Linked DNA regions of Homo sapiens: regions 1 and 2 are each linked to region 3. The links are contacts of gene promoters, found by promoter capture Hi-C in human tissues and cell types (Jung and others, 2019). All regions are on one chromosome and are shown on one strand. Each heading gives the region's core, a stretch centred on a gene start or on the middle of the fragment in contact. The rest is flanking DNA. Distances are from core to core; before and after follow the strand shown.

Region 1 (4,710 bases), core at 1,598-4,097, 330 kb before region 3:
TACTTCATTGAATCATGGCTACTTCATTGAGCTACTTCAGAGGTTAAATATGATAATACTTGGAATTCATTACCTGGCACATAGTAGCCTCAAATTTTTTTCTGTGGCTTTTTCTGGAACTCTGCTGTCTCCTCTTAAGATGGCTTTGAGGAGTGGGAGCCTAGAGAAATCTAGAACCAGGGAAAGGGTCAAGCCAAGCTTCAGCCTCTGGTGCTCTGGGGCAGGGCAAGTGCCAGCCCAAAACCAGCTGCTGGGGGTGGATGCTGGGTGCAGGGGACTCTGGGAGCACTCAGGTTTCTCTCACCATTCCTGATGCCGCCTGGGGCTCATTAAGGCTGCCCTGGCCTTGGGTAACAGGCAGTAAGGGAGGGTGGGGCACAGAGGGCAGATGCCATAAGGGGACAGACCAGGAAGGGGAGGTGGTCAAGCTGCCCCATCCATCTATCTGTCCCTCTCTCTTCTCTTTTATCTTTCTCGCTGTCTCTGTTCTCTGTCTCTCGGTCTGTCTGCCCTAGTCTCTAGTTCTGTGTCCAGCTTTTCGGCAGTGTCTCTCTGTTTGTATGTCTGATTTCGCTCTCTGACATCTCTCCATTGTTCTCTATCCTTTTCTCTCTCAGTGTCACTGTCCGATTCCTCAGTCACCTATTCCTGCTGCTACCACTCTCCCATCCTCTCACTCACTTTCATCTGTCCGTCTCTCTGTGTGTGTGTGTGTGTGTGTGTGTGTGTGTGTGTGTCCTCTCTCCACCCCATCCCAACCTTGAAGGTGACAGAGGAGGGAATAGACACAAAGCATACAGACCCCCAGCTACTTAAGGGTCAAAGCCAAGGATCTTACCCTCTCCTTTAGCCCTGAGAATTCTGAAGCCCAAACTCCCAGTAGCCTTGACCCCCTGCTCTGTCTCAGTCACCCTGACCACCCATCCTGGCATGGGGTGAAAGAGACAGACCCCTCCAGACCTTTCTGGACCAGCTCCCAGCCCCCAGCTGTGCCTGAGCCCTCCCCACCCCCTCCCTGTCGCCTCAGATTCCCCTAATCCCTGCTCCCCTGCCCTCCCCTCTGCCCCACTTTTCCAGGATTCTGATTGGCTGATTCTACTGACTGGGCTGAGGGGGAGGGGGCTGGCAAGGGAGGGGGCAGAGGGCAGAACCAAGGGAAGGGGACGCTGTCAGGCCCAGGCCCCTGGGGGGCCAGGGCCAGGCCACTGCCTGGGGGCAGCAGGCATCAGAAACTAAAGGTATGAAAGGGGGTGGTGTCTGGAGGGAACAGGAAGGGATCCTGGAGACCTTCTGCTCTAGTAAAGTCAAGGGAGGACGGGCCAAGCACGCAGCCTCCTCGGTTTGCCTTTGTTCCTGGGAACCCCTGTTGCTGTCAGGGGGTTACTGGAGCAGTGAAGGGCGGCCAGAACTCCCCAGCTGGTGCACAGCAGGGTCGCAGAAGGGAGCTGGGCCAGTGGAAGCCCAGAAGGGCTCTGAGGACCTTTGGGCTGCCCCTTTGGAGTCTGGTGGAGTTCCTCCCGTGACTCTGAGAGGAGGAGGAGAAGGTTTCAGAGAAGGGTAGTTGAATGGCTGGCCTGGACTTTCATTTCCCCTTGGGGTCAGACCCAGGCATTCCCCGCCCATAGGCCAGGTCGAGGTTCCTCCTGCAGAACTGGACCTGTAGCTGAGCATTCCTGGTGAGACAAAAGGGCATGGGGGAAGACTGAGGAAGGTTGGGAGAAGGGGCTCTGAGAATGGCCTAGGTAGTTCACCTCCCAGAGCAAAAGCCACCCAACCCACTACCTACCCCCACAGATGTCAATAGTTAATAAAGAATTATAGTTAGAGCAAAATCTAATTCTAGGGCATCTGAGAGATTCAGCAGCCCCCCTCCAAATCTAAGTCTCAATATCCCCCTCTGGTCAGTAGGATGAATCACCCACTTGACTCTCTTCTTCCTGGGGCGATACCAAGCTTTAGGATCCCCTGGGGGAAAGCAAAACCAGAAGAAGAGGGTGGCCAGGGGCTTGAGGCTGGGAGTCCTGCTGGTTCAGCAGGCAGCCTGCAGAAAAGGTATGAGCTCTTACTGGGTCTGTAATGTGCCTAAGGAGTTTGGGGGAGGGAGGCTGGAAAAGGGGGAAGTGAAAACCACCCAGAAGGGAAGGACTGGTCTACACCCTCCCCCAGGCCCACAGGGCACTGTGCTCCATTGCTCTGGAGCCAGCAGGGGAAGTGTGTACACTATGTGCACTGAGGGTGACACTTCTGAGTGTGGGGGCCCTGGCTAGGGAGTGGGACTGGCAGGCTTGGGTGGGGTTCCCAAGCTTTAATCTTCCTACCCCACAGAATGTTTTCTCTGCCCTTCAGGCAGCCTGAGCCGGGCAGGGCCCCTGCCTCTGCTACGGCAGCCCCCGATCATGCAGCCCCCACTGGACCTCAAGCAGATCCTGCCCTTCCCACTCGAGCCAGCCCCTACCCTTGGCCTCTTCAGCAACTACAGCACCGTAAGTAGCAGCCTGCCTGCCTTCTCCATCCTCTTGTGACCCGACCTTTCTCTCTCAGACCCACCTCTGCCCTCTTCTTCTGTTTCTAATTCCTTATCTCCTCTTATGACCCCATCTTCCTTAATTCTAGTTAATTTTGAGTATTGTGGGCCATCTGGTACAGTGTTAACAACAATAATAATAGCTAATATTTGCTGAGGTCTTGCTACGGGCCAGACACTGTGCTAAGTGTTTTATATGAATTATCTCATTTAGTCCTACAGTGAATCGCCCTACCATCTAGAGAAGTAATGAGACTTAAATTGGTGGTAGTAACAGTAGGGAGGTAGGAGGGGTGTAGGTGCTGAATCCAGAAAGAGGGAATGAGCAGGAAAATAAGCATGCCTGTTTGTAAGTTTCACCTCTCTGCAGTCCACGGCTGGGTGGGTAGCATCAGTGGGATAGGGCTTGGAGGACTGGCAAGGTGGTCTAGATTTAATACAATATGAAATAAGGAGGTGCTGTCTATTCGTGTGTTTGTTTGTTTGTTTTTATGAGACGGAGTCTCACTCTGTTGCCCAGTCTGGTGTGCAGTGGCACGATCTTGGGTCACTGCAGCCTCCACCTCCCCAGTTCACCGATTCTCCTGCCTCGGCCTCCCAAGTAGCTGGGATTACAGGCGTGTGCCACCACACCGGGCTAATTTTTGTATTTTTAGTAGAGATGGGGTTTCACCATGTTGGCCAGGCTGGTCTCAAACTCCTGACCTCAGGTGATCCGCCTGCCTCAGCCTCCCAAAGTGCTGGGATTACAGGCATGAGCCACCACACCCAGCCGCCACTGTCTATTCTTGAGCAGGAGAGTGACTTGGTAAGAGCAGTGTTTGAGGAAGGTGAGTGGGGCAACTGGATGAAAGGGAACAGAGGCAGGAGGAAGGTGACAGTTAGGAGGCTGTCCTAGCAATGCAGGCCCGAGGGAAGCCTCAAAAGCCAGACGGGGCTGGTGGCAGTGGCAGTATGAGTGGAGAGAAAGGGAGAATGGGGGAGGTAATTTCAAGGAAATATTGACAGGCCATGGTGACCAACTGGTGTTTGGGGGTGGGGGAGAAGAGAAGGCATGAGTCAAGGATGACTCCAGCATTCAGGCCTTTGTGATTGGATGGAAGTCACCACTGACAGAGGCAGAGGGTTGGAAGAGGAAGCTGGTCTCCAGTGAGGATGATGCTTTAGCATGTGGTGCTAAAGCTAAAGCTTTATTTGTTTTGTTTTGTTTTGTTTTGTTTTTGAGATGTAGTCTTGCTCAATCTCTCAGGCTGGAGTGCAGTGGCATGATGATCTTGACTCATTGCAACCTCCGCCTCCTGGGTTCAAGCCATTCTCCTGCCTCACCCTCCTCAGTAGCTGGGATTACAGGCACGTACCACCATGCCCAGCTAATTTTTGTATTTTTAGTAGAGATGGGGTTTCACCATCTTGGCCAGGCTGGTCTGGAACCCTGACCTTGTGATCCACCTGCCTCAGCCTCCCAAGTGCTGGGATTACAGGCTTGAGCCACCGTGCCTGGCCTATTTGTTTTGTTTTAAAAAATAATAATAAATATTTTTTTTAAAAAAAAAAGGATATGGTGATTTGGCATACCAGTAGGACATTGAGCCCAAAATGTTCTACAGATAGTTAGAATCTGAAGCCTGGAAGGTGGGCTAGAGCTAAAAGTTTGGGGAAAGTCAGCCTTATTCAACTTAAATAACCCACATCAAACCATATTTAGCCATAAACATGTATTGAGCATTGACTACACACCAGGCACTGTAGCAGATGTTTCTATCTGCAATCTCATTTCACCTTCACAACAACCCAACAAGGTAGACATTATTATTCCATTTAACAAATAAGAAAGCAAAAACTAAGCCTCAGAAGGGTTTAGTAATTTATATAAGTTGACACAGTATGTGCCTAAGGTATGATTTGAACCCATTGCATCTGACTCTAAACAGACTTATCGTTATACCACAGCTGCTCCCCCCAAATGAGGGACCCAGACACACATTTGCATTGCACTTTTAAGTTTTCAGACTGGGCCAGGCGTGGTGGCTCACGCTTGTAATCCCAGCACTTTGGGAGGCCGAGGCAGGCGGATCACAAGGTCAGGAGATTGAGACCATCCTGGCTAACATGGTGAAACCCCGTCTCTACTAAAAAAAAAAACAACAAAAAACTAGCCGGGCGTGGTGGCGGGCGCCTGTACTCCC
Region 2 (4,638 bases), core at 2,121-4,620, 270 kb before region 3:
CTTGTCAACATCCAGACTCTAATCAAGCCATGTCAATGGAGTAAAGTAAGAAACAGCAGCAAGTATCTAGATAAAAAAGACCCTAAACCTGCCACTAGGCTCCGTCAAATACCTGGATAATTGCACTCATCCTCTGCCTCCCAAGGCAGACCTGGCTTCTCAAGGGTCTGGTTTTCCTCACATGGAGGCCCCCTCCTCCTCTTCTGACCATGTGACAGCTCCCCTAGATCTTTGATATAATTTATACCTTGCCAGGGACCAACTCTTTCCCACCACTGTGAAGAAGAGGGAAAAAATATATATAAATACGTCGGAAATCTATAACAAGGTCTTCTTGGAGGGCAAGACATGGGGAGAGTTAGAAGCAGCGTCAATTGCTCTTTGGGGGTTTTAGTTCAAGCCGAGGTCTGCTTCCAGCAATCAACCATTAAAACAAGCTGGCCAGAGTAACAGCACAGTTTATTCTGATCATTTAATTTGAAGTGTCAATAAATTAAACTTCAATCAATTAAACTAGGTGTGCAATAACCCAGATGGACACCCCGACACCAACATAATCACAATAAAAATTTTTATTGCTGCCAGGGACCTCACCGGGGGCAGTGCTGGCACTGCTCGCGCCCTAGCTGAGAAATATATCTCCACAGCGCAGGAATGAGGAGATTGCTTCTCCTAACAAAATGGAGGGGGCCAGGCACCAGCAAGGACGCAGCTGGGAGAGGGGCACAGGGGACTGCCAGGAACGAGATGGGAGTGCTTTAGGGGCTTAATGTAATTGATACCTTTGCCCAGAGCAGGGGGAGGGGGGCATTTAGGCCAAGTACCTCTACTGTTAGGGCCAAAGGAATTTAACAAAAGCCCCATTAAGATGATTCAGGAAGCAAAGGCCAAGGAGCAACATCAACCTTTAAAGTCATTGACATATTCTGCATAGTTTCCTCCTCCATACATACTCATATCCTTGTGCACTTTGGATGGCCTGATTTTTTAATGAGGCTTAGAATTTAGGATTTGGTTATGGTTTTAAAATATTAAGGTAAGACAAAGTACAGAATTAGAAGTCTAGTCTGTAAAGCACTGGAGAAGCACTCTGAAAGTGAATCCAGAGAGGATTAGGAAAAATAAAACCTATGAACAAAGATTTAAAGATCTAAACCGATACAGAATTCAGTTTTGTTTGTTTTTTAAGACAGAGTTTCACTTTTTGCCCAGGCTGGAGTGCAATGGCCCTCGGCTCACTGCAACCTCCGCCTCCCAGGTTCAAGCGATTCTCCTGCCTCAGTCTCCCGTGTAGCTGGGGATTACAAGCGCATGCCACCACGCCCAGCTAATTTTTGTATTTTTAGCAGAGACGGGTTTCACCATGTTGGTCAGGCTGGTCTTGAACTCCTGACCTCAGGTGATCCACTCACCTCAGGATTACAGGTGTGAGCCACCGAGCCCGGCCCGAGTAATTCAGCTTTAAAGAAAAAAAGTAAAGCAGGAAGGAGGAAGGGGAAATCCTTATCTTTAAGATTCCACAGGTTATTAATGGAGAATGGTGATCTGCAGAGATCCTCTTCATTCACAACTCAAAAAGCGAGAACCAGCAGATACAGCAAGAGAGAAGAAGCCAAGTCCAAAGATGCAGGCTGAGATCACTATTATTAAGCATTGGGAACTAAAAGAGATGAAAGGGTCTCTTTCCTTAGAGCCTAAGGAGACCTGAGAGAGATTAGACAAATCTGCTTGAAAGCTAGAGCTGGATTACTTAATTCAAGAAAGAAATGTGACCATGTGACCCACTGTAAAGTACCTAAAAGAAGGGAACTTACTGTTATTTAGAAATTCCACAATCAATGCAAACTTTGATCAACAGTTCTTCTTGACCCCCTGTAGCTTACCTGTCCCTTTTTCTCGACATCCTGCAGCTATGTATGTACCTTGTAGAGTTAAGGACAGAAGAATATGCTTTGATCAGATTGTCCCTAACCGCATTACATAGGTTTCCCATAACAAAGAACCAGTGTGGTTTTAAAAGCAAAGTCCAGGGTTACCTGATCAAGTTAGCAGGGATCTGTGAATGCAGCCTATTAGGCATAGATTAAAGCAAAAGAATAAGGAAGAAGCAGGCTGAAACAGACTTCACTGAAGAAGCAGAGACAGAGAACTAAGGGAAGAGAAATGTGACAGAGAGACTTTCTTTTTCTTTAACTTTTCTGAGACAGAGCCTTGCTCTGTCACCCAGGCTGGAGTGCAGTGGCGCATCTCGGCTCACCGCGACCTCTGCCTCCCAGGTTCAAGTGATTCTCTTGCCTCAGCTTCCTGAGTAGCTGGGATTACAGGCGTGGCCACGCCCAGCTAAGTTTTGTATTTTTAGCAGAGACCGGGTTTCACCATGTTGGTCAGGCTGGTCTCCAACTCCTGACCTCGTGATCCGCCCACCTCGGCCTCCCAAAGTGCTGGATTTACAGGCGTGAGCCACCGTGCCCGGCCTTTTTTTTTTTTTTGAGATGGAGTCTAACACTGTCGCCTGGGCTGGAGTGCAGTGGCGCGATCTCGGCTCACTGCAACCTCTGCCTCCCTGGCTCAAGTGATTCTCCTGCCTCAGCCTCCTGAGTAGTTGGGACTATAGGCTCGTGCCACCACGCCCAGCTATTTTTTTTTGTATTTTTAGTAGAGACATGGTTTCACCATGTTGGCCAGGCTGGTTTCGAACTCCTGACCTCAAGTGATCCGCCCACCTCAGCCTCCCAAAGTGCTAGGATTACAGGCATGAGCCACTGCACTGCGCCCGACAGAGATACTTTCACATATAACTCCCCCAGCTTACCCACTACACACAGGCCCATTGTTAAAAGGGCTCCCCAATTATTATCTTCCTCATTCCTTTACCTTTAAGCAGGCTCCCTTCTAAACATATATAGGTAAGTCTAAAAACTTCCAAAAAAACCAATTCCCTAGAATCTATCCTAGTCTGCTAATTGGGTTTAGGGGGAGGTTTTTTATTCTTATTTTTTTAGAGACAGGGTCTGGCTTTGTCACCCATGCTGGAGTGCAGTGGCACAATCATAGCTCACTGCAGCCTCAAACTCCCAGGCTCAAGCGATCCTCCTGCCTCAGCCTCTTACAGTGCTGGGATTACAGGCATGAGCCACTGCACTCAACCTCTTGATTAAGAATACTTGCTGCCGGGCACGGTGGCTCACTCCTATAATCCTAGCACTTTGGGAGGCTGAGGCAGGTGGATTGCCTGAGCTCAAGAGTTCAAGACCAGCCTGGGCAACACAGTGAAACCGTCTCTACTAAAATACAAAAAAGTTAGCCAGGTGTGGCAGCACGTGCCTGTAGTCCCAGCTACTCGTGAGGCTGAGGCAGGAGAAATTGCTTCAACCCAGGAGGCAGAGGTTGCAGTGAGGTGAGATCACACCACTGCACTCCAGCCTGGGTGACACAGCGAGACTCTGTTTCCAAAAAAAAAAAAAAAAACTTGCTAACTGGCCGGGGTGCAGTGACTCACACCTGTAATCCCAGCACTTTGGGAGGCCAAGGCAGGCAGATCACTTGAGGTCAGGAGTTCAAGACTAGACCAGCCTGGCAAACATGGAGAAACCCTGTTTCTACTAAAAATACAAAAATTAGCTGGGCATGGTGGCGCGTGCCTGTAACCCCAGCTACTCAGGAAGCTGAGGCATGAGAATTGCTTGATTCTGGGAGGCGGAGGTTGCAGTGAGCCAAGATTGCACCACTGCACCCCAGCCTGGGCAACACAGCCAGACTCTATCTCAAAAAAAAAAAAAAAAAAAAAAAAAAAAAAAAAAAAAGAATACTTGTTAACTGCTTGGTACAGAAAATATTTAAAACTACTCAGATTTTAAGCTTTTTACCTATATTTGACCAACCGACATAAGGAATTAACTGTCTTTAACTGAAAGAGAGGAATTAAAACCTGTTATTCTTTTATCTGATGAGGATCTGAATGTGTATGCTTAGGAGATCTGAAGGAAAATAAAAGACAAGCTTCTTTGGAAAGAGGCCTAGAGTTCAAGCCAATTAAGGAAGAAGGCTGGGAGTTAAATTCCTACACTATACTACCTACCTACCTACACACACACACACACACACACACACACACACACACACACCCCTCCAAATCGCAAAATAGGGCACTTTTGAGAGAAATTCTCTGGTCCAGTTCTAAAAAGGGGTAACAGGTATTTTATTTGTTAGAACAAGCATAAAGCATCATATGGACAAGAGGGCTAATACAGCCCTTTAGCGACCACAATTCTCATGTAACCAGAGAGGGAGAAATTAGCATCCTAGATCATACAATAAGAATTCCTGGCCCGGCGCAGTGGCTCACGCCTGTAATCCCAGCACTTTGGGAGGCCGAGGCGGGTGGATTACGAGGTCAGGAGATCGAGACCATCCTGGCTAACACGGTGAAACTCCGTCTCTACTAAAAAATACAAAAAATTAGCCGGGAGTGGTGGCGAGCGCCTGTAGTCCCAGCCACTCCGGAGGCTGAGGCAGAAGAATGGCGTGAACCCGGGAGGCGGAGCTTGCAGTGAGCCGAGATCGTACCACTGCACTCCAGCCTGGGCGACAGAGTGAGACTCCGTCTCAAAAATAATAATAATAATAATAATAATAATA
Region 3 (4,365 bases), core at 2-2,501:
TGCTGACCTGACTTTGGTGTTGGGGAGTCGGTGGTCCTTCTTCCATTTCATGCGACGGTTTTGGAACCAGATTTTGATCTGCCTCTCAGAGAGGCACAGCGAGTGGGCGATCTCGATCCTTCTCCTTCGGGTCAGGTAGCGGTTGTAATGAAACTCTTTCTCTAATTCCAGGACTTGCTGCCGGGTATAGGCTGTCCTCGAGCGCTTGGGTTCCCCTCCGTTATAATTGGGGTTCACTGGGGGGAGGGGAAAAGCAAATAGTGGGGTTCAGAGGCAGCAGGCTCCCCGCCCCCCACCCTCACCCCATCCTCAGCTCTGAGAAACAGGAGGAGGGAGTGGTGGAAATAAAGTCATCAAGCTTAAATGGGTTATAAAGAAGTTGAAGGAAGCTGAAGACTTTGTAGTGTAATAAGAGGGGAATCCTCATTGTAACGACACTGAATTATTTATGCGCCCTTAGAAAGCGAGCATAGTTTTCACACATACATAACAGATCGTAGCACATGGCTCGGACTGCCCAGAGTAGCTAAGCCATAAAATTTATGGGGGATGTAATTACCCATTCTCGCTCGTAAATCCAGTTCAATTGTGCTAACCCAGAGTCGCTCCTGGAGAGAGAGGGGGAAGGAGAGAAAGGAGGACGGGGGCCAGAGGGGGCCGAGGAGGGTGGGGAGCGCTAGGGAAGAAGGGAGGGAGGGGGGGAGCAAAAAGCAAAGTTGCCTACCCGTGCTAACGTGAATTTTTTTCATCCATGGGTAGACTATGGGTTGCTTGCTGGCGGCGCTGGAGGGATGGTCGGGGGCTGGCTGGCTGCAGGCTGGCGGGGCTGGGGACGGGGAGGCGGAGGCGCCTGAGAGAGGCGCCGGCTCGCAGAGCGACTGTGATTTCTCGGGGTGGTGGTGGCCCGCCTGGGCCGGCCCGTGGCCTCGCGAATTGCCGGGCCCCTGGAGACTGGTGCAGCTATACTGGCGCTCAGGGTAGCTAGGGCGCGGAGGCGGTGGTGGGTACAGCTCCTGGTGGTGATGCTGGAATCCCGATTCCCTGGTCCGGCCGTAATATTCCGGACTGTGTTCAGGGATGTAGCTATTTTGCGAATATTCTTCGCATGGAGGAAATTTCGGATCGATGTAGTTAGAGTCCATCAAATACGAGCTCATGATCATTAATTTCTGGAGTGGAAAATAATTTTTCTCGCTTTGTCGTTTTTCTGCTCCATAAAGCCCTCCTACTAGCTAGCGACCCTGTAAAGTTACTTTCACCATGTGACTCCTCCGGCCAATCACACGGAGCAACCCAGTCCCCGGATAAGGAACCGAATCGCTTTATTCAAAATGTATCCAATTTTTTTGTGTGTGTGGTGGTGGTGGTGCTGGGAGGCGGGGGTGGGTGGTGATGTGGGGTTAGCTAGCAGAGGTTGGAGTGCCCCCAGTGCACATCCCGCCAGACTGACAACCCTCCCCTGCAAAAGGAGATGGGAAGCTCCCGGCTCCCCTCCAAAGCCCGGGCATTGGGGGACTGTCGGGAGGCAGTGATTCAGCCCCCGCCCAGGGTCTCCCCTCAGGCCTCTGCTGGGCCCCGTGGGCCTCGGCTCCTGAGCTTTTCCAGAGGTCTCCATTCATGGCGATCGTGTCTCAGTCTGTGTAGGTCACGGGGCAGCGCCCCTCTTTCGCAGGAAGAGGAAGTTGAATGAGGACTGGAGTGGATGTTGGATGGGGAGGGGCCCAGGCTGAGCCGAGGAGGCTGGAGAGCCTGGAGTGCCCCCCATCCAAGGATACCAGAGTCCAGCCCCTCTTCCCCATACACACTCACCCAACCCTCTGGCCATGCGGCCGGCGAGGCAGGGTCCCAGCTGGACCAGGCAGGTAGAGGCAGCGGGATGCAAATGATTCTGACGTCATTTCTGGAGGTCTGGGGGTTGAGCCCCCGCTGAAGAGAGACAGGAAGTGGTTGGCAAAAGCAGAGTTCAGAAGTCTCGCCTTCCCCTGCTACCCACTGACCCTCCCTGCCCCAGCCCCAGAGCAGAGGATCTCTTCTACTGCTGGCTTCTGTTTCCACTCCCCATTCAGCCCGGCCTGCTATTTTCTGACAATTATCTCCAAGGAGCTGGGGCAAGGAGGAGAGCTTTCTGCCAGGAGTCAGTGCCCTGTGATGGTGCCCAGCCAAGATCCTGAGAGTTCTTTCTCTGTCCCCACAGAGGGCAGACCTAGCTAAGAGGGAGGCCTGTGTGGGTAGAGCCTGCTTGCTTCTGGCTAGGAGCTGTATCCATGTAACACGTGTGTTTACATGTAAACACGAATTCCTAAAGGCCAGCTCCAGGCTGCTTTCCAAAAACGGAAGGCTAAGCTCACCAAGTTGGGGAGGCACGGCCAGCCTTTGGGGTCTCCAGCCCATTCACACCCCCTGCTCTCTCTCTGCCACCCACTCACAGTAATACTCTGATGGAGGGGGGTGACAGGGCCGTAGAGGAGGGAGGGGGCCAGGAAAAGCTGCTTTCCTAACCACCACCCCCCCCCCCCAGCTAGGGGTGGTCCTGTCATGCCACCGATTCCAATTAACTGATCGCCCATAACTCAGAGTTGCGGGGGGTAGCGGAGGGGAGAGCCCAGGGAGGGAGCCGGGTCCCCTTGTTGTACTTGATAACAATTATAGTTTAAAATCATAGCTTGCCAGGGCTCAGCTATATTTTACTTGATAACAATAAAAGTGACACATAAAGTTAACTGTTTATGTTTTATTTATTAGACTAAATCTGCCAGCGGTGGTAGGAGCGCTTGCCTCGTCGCTACAGCTTTTATAGGGCTGTAAAACGTCATAAATCAGTCTCGCGGAATCGCCCGCACTCTTTGTGTCGGCGGCGGCGCAGGGCTGGCGGCCGCTGGCTGCCTGCTCCCTCCTTTCCACGAAAAGTCGTAATGTGATTTTTTTTCCCTCTGATTTTATTATTATGATCGCCGCCGTGATTAGTCAATCTACCTTTAATTCGCCGCCCTACGCTACCTCCTCCCAGCCCAGCCTGGTTGACACTTGAATAAGTACCTTTTAAAACGGCATAACAACTATTTGAGGGTTTAATTAGAACATCTGCAATTAAGGGAATGAGGAGGGGAAAGGGAAAAAAAAAATAAAGCCCTTGTGAGAGGGAGACTGAAGGCAAGAGATTCCAATCCTTTTCTCATCACCTTTGGGATGTTGGAGAGGGTCCCCACTTCCAAATTAGGGCTTCCCCAAAGGGCTGGAATGAGAGGGAAGCTGGACCCACAGCCGTGCCCAAAGGGTGCGGATTCCCGCCTGGGCCCTCGTTGCCTTCCCTCCTCCAATGCTTAGGCCCCCAGCCCCACCCCAGGCTCAGCAGGGCCAGGGCTTAGCTCCCAAGGAGCTGGTGCTTGGTGGTCCCTGAATACTCTCTCTCCAAGAGGACAGTGCCCATCCCCACTGTAACCAGGCCAGGTGAAGGAACAGGAGTTCCCCAGAGGCTGAACACCTCTAATGGAGATTCCCAAATTCTCAGAGTTGGCTGAGAACCCTTGCCCACTCTTGTCCGGAACTCTCTGCATGTGAGGACAGGCTGGTTTGGTTGGAGAGGAAGTTGAGACTGTGAGTGAGGGGGCGGAGGAAGGCTACTGCTTGGTTAATAGTGGTTTGGGTTGTGTGGGGTTGTCTTAATCATTGGTGGTGGGGGTGGGTTCATTATAAATTGCTGGAAGAGGGCAAAGGGAAACCAGTGCTGAATCCTAGTACCTAAGTCTGAACTGTAGTCCCAGATGGCTCCACCGGGAAGTCCAAAGCTCAGCAAACTTTGGTGCCATGTGGAGAGGGTTGATGAAGAGGGAGGAAACCTTCCCGGCCCCACTCCCAGTCTCCCTTCTAGGCCTGTACCTGGATGCGGCTGCCTCACCTGGAAAGGTGAGCTGTGAGCCTGACTCTCATCCTCTCAGCCCTCACACTCACCTTTTACCATCCGTGCCCTGACGCTAACCCTCTTTTCTTCAATCTTCACCCTCCTGTACTTGTTAAGGAGTCCTCCCCAATATGTTGCCTGTCACATCCCACCCCCGCCAGGTTTCTGAGCTTCTGCAGGGGGGTCAAGGAGACTGACTTTGGGCCAGTATAAGTAGTAGACACAGAGGGTTCAGATGCCCCCAACTGAATGTCAAGTCTGTCTTTGGTTATTATGGTTAACATATATGCGTGCACACTATTAATATTTATTAATATATTAAATGCCTCTTTATGCAGCTATAAATATGTAGAGTTTTCATTCCAGGTTCGTGCAGCTAATTCAACATGCACATCCAGAAAGTGAAATCTCCAAGATTCCCCCAAATGTGCCCACACTCATCTACATCATTTACAAAACAACAACAG

Evidence for each region. Contacts are between HindIII fragments. The study calls those that stand out against the background at their distance.
Region 1: a fragment that was not itself captured here is called in contact with the fragment with the promoter of HOXC4 in region 3 in 1 of the 25 tissues and cell types used here (small bowel).
Region 2: a fragment that was not itself captured here is called in contact with the fragment with the promoter of HOXC4 in region 3 in 2 of the 25 tissues and cell types used here (aorta and psoas muscle).

What each region holds. Positions count from the first base shown.
Region 1 is chr12:54,382,201-54,386,910 of GRCh38, reverse strand. ZNF385A (zinc finger protein 385A) reads left to right here and starts at 2,178. Exons shown (of 7, transcript NM_015481.3): 1 at 2,178-2,483. The coding sequence starts at 2,397. All of the region lies in intron 1 of GPR84-AS1 (GPR84, ZNF385A, ITGA5 and GTSF1 antisense RNA 1), which reads right to left. The HindIII fragment of the contact is 3,541 bases long and covers 1,077-4,617 here.
Region 2 is chr12:54,326,127-54,330,764 of GRCh38, reverse strand. The region is part of intron 1 of COPZ1 (coat protein complex I subunit zeta 1); the gene reads right to left. Among named protein-coding and RNA genes, the nearest start is that of COPZ1, 3.3 kb to the right of the region's middle. RefSeq lists enhancers at 194-883, 884-1,574. The HindIII fragment of the contact is 4,502 bases long and covers 1,120-4,638 here.
Region 3 is chr12:54,050,721-54,055,085 of GRCh38, reverse strand. It overlaps HOXC4 (homeobox C4), which reads right to left and starts at 1,251. Exons shown (of 2, transcript NM_153633.3): 1 at 725-1,251; 2 at 1-236. The coding sequence starts at 1,163. RefSeq lists a cis regulatory region at 960-1,460 and enhancers at 2,037-2,196, 1,492-2,473, 2,474-3,455. The HindIII fragment of the contact is 12,403 bases long and covers 1-4,365 here.